Regions from separate parts of the Homo sapiens genome. Here region 1 is linked to region 2. The links are contacts of gene promoters, found by promoter capture Hi-C in blood cells and fetal thymus (Javierre and others, 2016). All regions are on one chromosome and are shown on one strand. The core of a region is centred on a gene start or on the middle of the fragment in contact, and the rest is flanking DNA. Distances in the headings are between cores, read along the strand shown. Region 1 has its middle 21 kb from the start of EN1. Region 2 holds the start of INSIG2 (insulin induced gene 2).

Evidence for each region. The method cuts DNA at HindIII sites, captures the fragments that hold promoters and counts their contacts. A CHiCAGO score of 5 or more calls a contact.
Region 1: a fragment that was not itself captured here is called in contact with the fragment with the promoter of INSIG2 in region 2 in 2 of 17 cell types (M0 macrophages and total CD4 T cells); the score reaches 5.6 in M0 macrophages.

The regions. Positions count from the first base shown.
Region 1 is chr2:118,865,794-118,871,897 of GRCh38, reverse strand. No RefSeq gene overlaps it. Among named protein-coding and RNA genes, the nearest start is that of EN1, 21 kb to the right of the region's middle. The HindIII fragment of the contact is 736 bases long and covers 1,181-1,916 here.
Region 2 is chr2:118,086,452-118,091,994 of GRCh38, reverse strand. INSIG2 (insulin induced gene 2) reads right to left here and starts at 3,524. Exons shown (of 6, transcript NM_016133.4): 1 at 3,454-3,524. LOC107985940 (a long non-coding RNA gene) reads left to right here and starts at 3,564. Exons shown (of 3, transcript XR_001739662.3): 1 at 3,564-3,744. RefSeq lists enhancers at 3,570-3,759, 3,770-3,819. The HindIII fragment of the contact is 7,859 bases long and covers 369-5,543 here.

The sequences.
Region 1 (6,104 bases), core at 299-2,798, 780 kb before region 2:
TTCACTGGGACATGAGGACATTCAAGAGCTCAGCAGAGGCAGGTTTGGGGCTGGGATGAAGGTAGGGAAGAGGCCTCGTGTGAAGGCAGCTGTGTGACCACAAGTCCCAGGAGGCTCTTGAAAAGTTTCATGCTAAAGAGTGGCCTGGTCAGGTTCACACTTTAGAAGGGCTCCTCTCTAGTGTGGAGAATGGACTGTGGGGGTTCATGCTAAGAAGCAAAAAGTCAGACACATTGAGGCAATTCAGAGACGATGGTAAACTAATACAGAGGAGCTGGAAAGAAGTAGGTTGATCCAAGAGATATTTAGAGAGCATTGACTAGGGCTCATTGATTGGATATGGGTGGTAGGGAGAGGAAGGAGGTCGATATTAAGTGCTAACCAGCTTTCTGGCTTGGCCACCAGGATTAAGAGTGATTCTCTCAGGAGACAGAGAACACAGGGAGGGAAACTTTGCTGGAGGAGGAGGAAGAGGTGTTGGGTTCCACTAGGGTTCATTCATTTAGAGTTCTCCATTGGGGACACTTAGGAGGCAGGTGGAGATGAAAGTTTGTAGCTCAGGAGAGAGATCAAAACTGGCAGTAGAGATTCAGGAGTGACTCATCATCAACTGGGCACAAGAAAAGGCAAAACTGTACCGAAAGAAATTAAATCAGAGGTTGTGAGGGGCTGAGGGAAGGGGAAAGTGATTGCAAAGAAGCACAAAGGAATTTTGGGATGGGATGGAACAGTTCTCTATCTTGATGATCATCATGCTTAGACACTGAATACATTTGTCAAAAATTATAAAGTTAAAATTGGTTGATTTCTTATATATAAATTATACCTTAATTAAGCTGCTTTTTTTTTCAAAACAAAGAAGAAAGAAAATCCAATGCCTATCATAATCTAGAGATTCAGCTCCTAGGTTTATACTCAACATACAGGAGCACACATGTGCACCAAAACACATATTCACTGAAGTTCATAGCAGCCTTATTTATAATGGCCCCAACCTGGAAACAACCAAAATGTCCATCAATAGTAAAATGAATTGTGGCGGATCATACAATGTGTCATCACATATTCATCATTTTACTATTGAAAAAGCAAACTCTAGCTACATAAAGCTCCCAGATGAATCTCAGGCAGAATGTTGAGCTAAAGAAGCCATATGCAAAAGAGTACACATGATAAAGCTTCCATTTACGGGAACTTCAGATACAAGCAAAACTAATCTGCATGATGGAAATCAGACTAATGGCTACCTCTGCAGGGAGACATGACCAGGAAGGGCATGAGAGAGCTTTCTGGAGGCTGGAAATGTTAAATATGCAGATCTAGGTGGCAATAATACAGGTGTACATATACGGAAAAGTTTCATAAGCTGGACACTTCAGATCTGTAAAATTTTATTGAATGTAAGTTTTACCTCAATAAGAAAATGATCTAAGACATATCTGTAAGATTAAGTCCGTATTCATTTCAATTCCTTGAATTTAGATTTGACGGACATATAGACAAGGTGAGTTGGGGTTTCTATCTGCTCTCTATGAAAACAAGGAAATTAGTAGCATATACAATGGCCATGCTGAGCCTCCTTATGAGTGAAGAGTTGTTGGAGAATTGTCTTGACAGTTTGGAAAATTACAATCTGTGCAATCACATGTATTTCACATTGAATGTGCTAATTATAAGCATTTCTTATCTGTTCACCAGGTCAGATTTCCCAGCCACTGCCACCAGGGCCCCTGGAGTCTCAAGAAGACTTAATTGCCATCTCCCAGTGTCCTTGACTGAGGACCTGTTTAAAAGTGCTTTAGCAAATGTTTGAGCTGCAGGAGGAGTGCCGAGCTGTTCATTTTGCAGTGCTCAGAGGGTGAGGACCCCTTCTGCTGCTGTCCTGTTACCCTGGTTCACTGGTGGATGTGCAAGCTTGCTGTAGCCAGAAGCCCTCGTTACATTATGGTCTTCATGTTTAGGAAAAGCATTATTGAAAGCAGAAGATTGTGAGCCCCAGCTCCCCTAGAGCCTGGAAAGGAAGGGGAATTCAGAGTCACAGTCTCACTAAATTGAAGCTGGGGGCTAGGCCAAGCACATTTCCTGCATTATATAATGTAATCCTCTCAGTGACATGGCAGATGGCACTCCAGACCAACATGGGAGGAGGCAACAGGGATGGGACTACTGGGCATCCACGTAGAAAAACATAACATCGAATCCCTTCCTCCTCCATATATTCTGTACTTTTCAGTAAATCTCAGGTACACGGAGGATTTACAGGTGAAAGGCAAGACTTCAAAACTGTTCAAAGAAAATATAGAAGAGTATCTTTCTGACTTTGAGTTTGAGATGATTTCTTAAACACAAGAGAGAAAAAGCACTAACTACAATAAGGAAACATTAATAAACCAGACGACATTAAAATTAACTCTGTTCATCAAAAGACACCAAAAGAAAAGTGAAAGGCAGGCCATAGACCAGGAGAAAATATACGCAACATCTGTAGCTGGTAGATTACTATCCAGAATACATAAAGAACTCCTGCCAATGCATTAGAAAAAAGGACAGCCCAGCAGAAAATGAGCAAAAGCTGCAAATAGGCATTTCTCAGAAGAAGGAAGTAAAAAATAACCCAGTGAGACACAATTGTAGTAAAAACGCTAAGTTCTGGGCAAGACATGGACTTCAATGTTAATCCATTTCTGCTGTTTCTGATGAATGTGTATTTGATGCAATACAACTTGATGCTTTCCACCACAATGTGATGGAAATTTGTGACCTAGCACTTTGACTTCATTTATATACATGAGAGCAGGGGTTTGCAAACTGAGGCCTGTGGACTTTGTTTTTGCTAAATAAAGTTTTATTGGAAGTCAGCCACACTTACTTGTTAAGATATGGCTGCTCTTGTAACACACAACAGCAGAGTTGAGTAGTCGCAACAGACACCTTAAGGCTTCAAAGCCTACAATATTTACTAGCTGATATTTTGCAAACAAAGTTTGCCAACCCTGATCTAGAGACAGTTTTAAGGTATCATTTTCTTTTTACCTATAACTTTCTAGAACCCATACCATTTTAACAGGCTTTATTTTTAGAACAGTTTTAAACTCATAGGGAAATTGAGAAGACAGTAGAGAATTCCCATAGACTCTCTCACCCAGTTTTCTCTGTCATTGACCTTAGCATGGTACCCTTGTTACATATTGCTACATGATTAACTAAAGTCCATAGTTCATTCACATTTTCTTAGCTTTTATCTAAAGTCTTCTGCTCCAAGATCCCATCCATTTACTTGACATATTTCCTTAAGCTTCTCTTGGCTGTGAGAGTTTCTCAAACTTCCCCTGTTTCTGATGACCCTGACAGTTGAGCAGTACTGGTCAGGTGTTTTGTAGAATGTCTCTCTGTGGAATCTATTTGATGTGTTTCTCATGATTAGACTGGGGTTATGGACTTTGGGGAGGAAGACCACTGAGGTAAAATGCCATTTTTATCATTATATGAAAGACATGTACTAACATGATTTATCACTGTTGCTACTGACCTTGATCACCCAGCTGAGGTAGTATGTGTCAGATTTTGACACTGTAAAGTGACTCTTTCCCCTATACTCCGTGGAGGGAACAAACGCATCATGCACAGCCCAGCCCACACTTAGTGGGTAGGGATGTATCCTCTTCCTTGAGGCTGAAATATATAACATATGTTATATATAATGTTACATATTATATATGTTATATATAATGTTACATATTATATATGTTATATATAATGTTACATATTATATATGTTATATGTTATATATAATATATGTTATATGTTATATATAATATATGTTATATGTTATATATTATATATGCTATATGTTATATATTATATATGTTATATATTATATTATATATAATATATGTTATATATTATATTATATATAATATATGTTATATATTATATTATATATAATATATGTTATATATTATATTATATATAATATATGTTATATATTATATTATATATAATATATGTTATATATTATATTATATATAATATATGTTATATATTATATTATATATAATATATGTTATATATTATATTATATATAATATATGTTATATGTTATATATTATATATAATATATATGTTATATATTATATATAATATAATATATGTTATATGTTATATATAATATAATATATGTTATATGTTATATATAATATAATATATGTTATATGTTATATATAATATAATATATGTTATATGTTATATATAATATAATATATGTTATATGTTATATATAATATATGTTATATGTTATATGTTATATATAATATATGTTATATGTTATATGTTATATATAATATATGTTATATGTTATATGTTATATAATATATGTTATGTTATATATTATTTATATAATATATGTTATATATTATTTATATAATATATGTTATATATTATATATTATTTATATAATATGTTATAATATATAACATATAATATATTTTATTTATAATATATAACATATAATATATTTTATATATAATATATGTTATAGTTTATACATGTTATATAATATATGTTATATTTTATACATGTTATATATAATATATGTTATATTTTATACATGTTATATATAATATATGTTATATTTTATATATGTTATATATAATATATGTTATATTTTATATATGTTATATATAATATGTTATATTTTATATATGTTATATATAATATATGTTATATATGTCATATATACTATATATAATGTTATATATATTATATATAATAATATATTATATATTATATATAATGTTATATATATATTTTATATATATGTTGTGTGTATGTATATATATATATATCAGAATAGTTTTACTGCCCTAAAAATTCCCTGGGCTTCACCTATTCACCACCACTTTCCAAGCCCCTGGCAACCACCAATCTTTTTACTGTGTTCTAGAGATATTTTTACACATGTATACCAAGAGACAAAAACAAGAATGTTCACAGAAGTAAAGAGCTAGGAACAACCCAAATGTCCACTGACAAGGGGATAGATAAATAAAATGAGATTTATTCCAGCAATGAACTCTTATACAGCTGATAACCTGACTCAAGCCCTGTTACATGCATGCAACAGTGACGAATCTTGGAGAAGTAATACTTAGTGAAAAATCTAGTCCCATCGACCATAGAATATCATTTTTTATGAAACTCAAATACAAGTTAAACTAAACAACATGTAATAAAACCAGTTTTTAAAAGGCAAAGAAGACCAGGCATGGTGGCTCACAACTGTAATCTCAGCACTTTGGGAGGCCAAGGTGGGTAGATCGCTTGAGCCCGGGAGTTCAAGACCAGTCTGCGCAACATGGTGAAACCCCGTCTCTACAAAAAAAAAAACAAAAAAAAAACACGAAAATTAGCTGGAAATGTTGGTGTGTGGCTGTAGTCCCAGCTACTCCAGAGGCTGAGGCAGGAGGATCACCTGAGCCCAGGAGGTCAAGGCTGCGGTGAGCCATGATCTTGCCACTACACTCCAGCCTGAGTGACAGAGTGAGACCCTGTCTCAAAAAAACAAAGGCAAAGATATAAAATTTAGGATAGTGATTAGTTTGGGCAGAGGCAAGGGAATGGGACAGGGAAGACACGTATATACAGAAGATCCACCCACCTTGGCCTCCCAAAGTGCTTTGATTACCGGTGTGAATCACCATGCCTGGCCTTCATTGCCTTTAAAAACAGCCTTTATTACATATTGTTTACTTTTACTTGTATTGGAGTTTCATAAACATAGAATCACTGTTGTTCTAGTTCTTGAAAGTAGTTCCTAAGTATTTATGGTTTGATTTTAAACACATTCATTGGTAGGTATACATATATATCCACATACATAGATATCTCTTGTATGTGTTAAATATATTAGGTATTTTTAATTGTGATAATGCCTAATGTATGGGATTGTTGTGAGAATTAAATGAGATAATATATGCAACAATTGACAACAATTGCATTTATGAGTATTATCATCTCCTAAGAAATCATGGTTGGTCTCCAGAGACACAGATCCAATATTTAAAAAAAAGGAAAGAAATCACATTTGGCCACTTCAGCTCCATGTT
Region 2 (5,543 bases), core at 2,275-4,774:
AATTATTTGCTGTGTGAGACTGTTCTAAGCATTGCAAAACATTTAGCATCCCTGGCTCCCACCCACTAAATGCCCCCTCCCCTATTTGTGATAACCAAAACTGTCCCCACAATGAGAGCCACTGATTGCTACAGACTTCATTCTATTTCAAGACAGCTAGAGACTTTCTGTTTATTTATGTTTTCTACCACAGCTGCTTATTTAACCTTTCCTGGCAGTGCTTGTTTAGTTTTCTACTTCGCCCCAAAAGTTTTCCTTAAAAATAACACATTTGCTTGACATTTATTTGAATGAGATTCAAAAAGCTAATTTTGTAACTACATCATAATACAATAGTATATAATTACTGGTGACAAAAAATAAAAGCTTTAAGAAATAGCAGGGAACTGGGAAATCATCTATTCCAAGGGGTATGAGACCCCCATGCGAAACAAAACAAAAAAGTTGTATATATATGCATTTTTTTCTGGGATGAAAGTTCCATAATTTATATAAAGTACTCAAAAAAGTCCATGATCCAAACAAAGTAAAGAATCAGTAATCTAACAATTCTCTCACTCTATTAGCAAGGCCAATGACATGCAAAGTAGTCAACTGGATTAACAAGATTAAGACAGTACCATCAGTTCTTATTACCACAAACGTGTATAGTGAATGCCAGAAAATGACCAGACTCATCAAAGGGATAGAGGCGTCCACAAAACCATTTCACCCCCTACCATGCAACAATGAAATTCCTTTAAAAGCATGTTTATAATATCAGTTGCACACTAGAGGAGTCAGAGGAGTGGGTTATTTTCAAGGGAAAGTAAGCTCCCTTAGTTTACTTTGAAGTTTGTTTTTCTGATTTTGTACTGATACCATTTTCTTAAAACAAAGTGGATCTATATCTTTAAATATTAGTCTTACATTAATGATAAACTTGATGCTCCAAAATTTTTTTTAAAAATCTATATTTGAAAAATTTAGATTACTTGACAAATAATTTGCTGACCAGGGAAAAAGTCTCTGGTATAAAGATACTGTTTAAAGGACAATATGTCAATAGATTCTCGAAAACAATCTTGGTAAATAGGCAGGTGTTGTTAGTTTCCATTTTACAAAATAAAATAGGTTAAGTAACTTTCCAAGATCACAGAACTGTTACCAGGTAGCACCAGGACTAGGCTCACCCACTCTGACCCCATGTCCGGAGTTCTTCCTGCTTCACCACACTGCTTCCATTCACAAACATGGTACAAAACAATTTAAGTGCCACACAAGAAACCGTTTTTAAAATCATGTTGGTAAACTACTATTAATACCAAAATAATGTTTTCAACAATTCACAAAGAAAAACTTTCCACCAGACTTGAAAAATTCTACGCTGAGCCCTGGCCTAAAATTTCTGGAAAGTACAATACTAAACAAAAAGAAAAAAAGTTGAAATAATTTGCATAGATCAATGATGAATCATCAATACTGGAAAAACATTATTCCAGGTGTATGGCTGCCTATTAATGGATTGATATTATTACTTTCAGGTTAAAAAAGAGTTATAAGTGATTATGAGCTTCGTGAATAAAAATCAAGGTTCATGTTGGCCACTGAAACAACTTAGAGGCAACAAGCATTTGAAAACAAACACACATACAAAATCTTCTAGTAACCTTAAGAACCTGTTGCATTGTAACAACTGCAACACCCCCTAAAACCAAATGACAAGACCATTCCTCTTCCAATGATTAGCCGTAAAAGAAGTATTTTTACTCCCTCAGATAACCCTGTTTCTTCAGGTGCTTAGGTCACGTAAGCTACTAAATAATAAAGTTAAATTACTACCTCACATATTTTTCATCATATGCTCTCTTAATTAGAATAGCATTCTTGAAATAGAATAAGCACTAACATTAGAAAAAAACAGACTTAAATCAATGCAACAGTTTAATGCTCCCTAAATAAAAACACATCTACATGTATCATGGGCTAGAGACGTTAAAAATTTCTAGGAAGAAAAGCAATATTTGCCTTATAAACACTGCAACTCTTTCCTCTCAACATTAAAACCCAAACATAGAAACCAGTAAGTTAGCTGCATTTACAGCCCCTTACAGGTTTTAAATGTCACATCTCAGTGCCTAAAAAAGTTACTCCATCGTTTCGAGATAAGTTTCTGAGAACAAAGAAAACTCTTTAAACTACTGAACTGCATTTTATTCTTTCCTTTTCCGTGTGACCATCTGCAAAAGCAACAGTTGTCAGTTAAACAGAATCAACCTCTTTCCCGAGTGGACATGATTCACAGCTTGGTCACTGTACAGCAGATGTGAACTGAGAACTACGACATAACACAATGACAAAACACAGTACTGAGCACAAAGTACAGGGAAAGAATGAAAGACAGAAAACAGGAAGAGCACACGTCTGATTTTTGTTTTCTTTGGGGCCCCCATTAGTAGCATTCCCTTCATCCATCTTCATTCAGTGGTTCACTATCAGGGCCAAACCCAAAAGTTACAAAACACCATCTAGCTACTGTCTGGCTGCTTTTATTTTTTCTGCACCAGGACGGGAGCACGCATTCCCCTGCAGTCCTCAGCTCCACCGCAATACTGATACCAAACAGTTTCAGTGGCCCAGCTGCCAAGCCTAACCATTCCTTTTTAAAGCATTTCTTCATCAATCCTACAAAACAGCAAGTTCTTCATGGTATATTTTCCTAGAGCATCTAGCTAATATCATACTTTAACAACTTTTTCCAACGTTAACTGGACATGGGTCATTATCACTTAAGTGTTAGCGCCATTGCCCGCGCCCACTCCCATAATCCACACTGCTTTCCTTCTCCATATTGCCAATCCCCACTAAGCAACCCTAAAATCTAGTAATTATCATCAAATCCACTTCTAGGCCCTGGCAAGAATTATTTGGCTTTACCGAAACACCTATTCCATAGGTAACCAATTCCAGTCAAAAATGCCAGAGTATTACTCCTCAACCCAATGCCCTATCTCCTTAGTGGATTATAAACTTACTACGACAACCTGTCTTCTTTGGATCCAATCCCCGCCCAAGTCTGAGTCTTCTCTCCCAGGCTACAAGCCCCCAAGTCCTGGCAGCTCTATGCTTGACAGCTCGCTGACCTCCACCTCATCAGACCATTGGGTCGCCCTTCTCGCCGTCCTCCAGCCTTCTTCCCGCTCAGACACTCATCCACTGTCCGGGGAGCCTCGACCCCTCCTATACCCCCTCCCCGATCCCGCAGTCCCCTTCTGGACCTTGCGGACCCCTCTCAGGTAAGCGGAGCCCCTTGCCCTGCAGGCCCATCAGTGGTCCTGGCTCCCCGCACCTGCCACCAGGGTTCCCAGGCTGCAAAAACACAAGTAGTTCTTCTTCCCAAGGGCCACCCTCCTCCTCAGGCCGCTTTCCTCAGCACCACGTCACCCGCGCTTCGCCGGGAGACCCCCAACTCACCCCCGCCTCCGCCATCTTCTGGGACCAGCCCCCGTACCCCCTACCGCCTCTTCCTCCTCCACTCCCACAACTCCGCCCGAGCTCCACTGCGCCTGTGCGGCCAACGAGGCCGCGCGCAGGCGATCGGGGCAGAAGAGCTTCCGGTTCCTGCTGTCAATAAGACGTGGACCTGCGAGCCGGGGCAAAAGGGCTTCCGGTCTGCGGGAAACTGGAGGCTAGCGGTGGGCGTGGACCGTCGAGGTGACTGGCGGTTGTCGGATCTGCTGTTGTTTGCTGACCAGGCAGCCGTAGGTAATGACGGATGCCCAGACCCTGTGGGCGGAGTAAAGGAATCATGCACTGATACACGCACACTCACCGAGGGGCGCGTCCGTCTGCGTGCCCCTCATCTCGTAGCCGAAAGGAGCGCGTTCCGGGGCAGGCCTCCGGGTACTTCCCGCAGAGGACCGGGCTTTATACTCTTTGCTCCTTTTCCTCCCCTAGTAAGTCATAACTTATTTTGGGAGAAGGGCATAGTTATTTGTCTCTCGTCTCCATGCTACAGCACTTTATGTGCTTTTCATTCAAAATCGTTCCTCGAGGACGACCAAGTAATGTGATTTGGGGGACAGTTTTCATAGGAAGGGCTTTATAAGTTTACACCAACATAAAGAAAACTTAAAAACCTTATAACCGCTTATTTTTCAGAAGTATTATTTTTCATTTAATCTAAAACCATACTTTTAGAACATGAAACCAAGCCAAACAGATCTTTGCAGATTGTGCAAGCGAACTTTTTTTTTTGAATGAAAGTGGTGCCATCAATGCAAAAGCAAGCCCATATAAGTGCCGAAAGGTACTCGTCATAAGGAGGAGTTGCTTCCCTATTCTGAATTTTTATTTATTTTTATTTATTTATTTATTTGAGACGGAGTCTCTCTCTGTCACCCAGGCTGGAGTGCACTGGCATGATCTCGGCTCACTGCAACCTCTGCCTCCCGGGTTCAAGTGATTCTTCTGCCTCAGCCTCCCCAGTAGCTGGGACTACAGGTACATGCCACCATGTCTGCCTACTTTTTGTATTTTTAGTAGAGATGGAGTTTCATCATATTGGCCAGGCTGGTCTCAAACTCCTGACCTCGTGATTCGCCCGCCTCATCCTCCCAAAGTGCTGGGATTACAGGCGTGAGCTGCCCCCTGAATTTGTTTTTTTTAAGCAACTCTTTTTAAAAAGAGAGAAAAAATAATCTCTCTTGAGTGTATTAGTTATTGAGCTATTCCATTTGGAGGTGGCTTAACCCAAAACGTGTATGGATGTGGTAAGATTACAATGGACTTGAATGTTCTAGATGAAATCTGGGCCGAGAGTAATTGCATAATAGTTTTCCAAAGGACTGTCAGATGGTAAACTCCTTTCATTTACTTTGAACTGATAAACGATAAGATGGATTTTTGTTTTTTGACCTTTTTATCTACATTTACTTCTGAAAATTGAAAAAGAATCTGAATTCCAACAAAATGTTTCTAGGCAAGTATTTGCATGATGCTTCTCTAACATTTCCTATATCTTAGTGTTTTCTCTAATGTTTTCTGTAGCTTTCAAATTTCACTCCTGTAAGTTTTTACACTACCAGTAAGAAAGATCTGGGCCAATTATACAGAATGGACGATGATTTTTAAAAGAATAGAGAAAGCATTCAGAAAAGAGACAATAATTTGAAAATGTTCTGACATCATGTATTTCCTTAAAGCAATACAAGTCCTGTATGTCCAGTTCATGTCTACTCCAACCGAGCTTTTTTCAGACACTTAGAAATTGCCTTCAAGAAAATCCTTATGGAACATTGTAACCTAGAGGGGCATTTATTTTCGTTTAAATATGTATTAATTGCAAGTAGTGACAGAACCTAAAAAGCAAAAACCATATAGCACCAGTTCCAAGGTTCCTATATCTAATGCAGTTACTCCTACTGCAGTACAAGGAGGAATATAAAATCCCTAGGAGAAATACAAAAGGCCATTGTCTTCTTTGACCAGATTTGAGGAAAGTTTTCATGGAAGATGTGGTCTTTCAGTGGGCGTTGAGGGTAAATATGCAGATATGGTTAGCC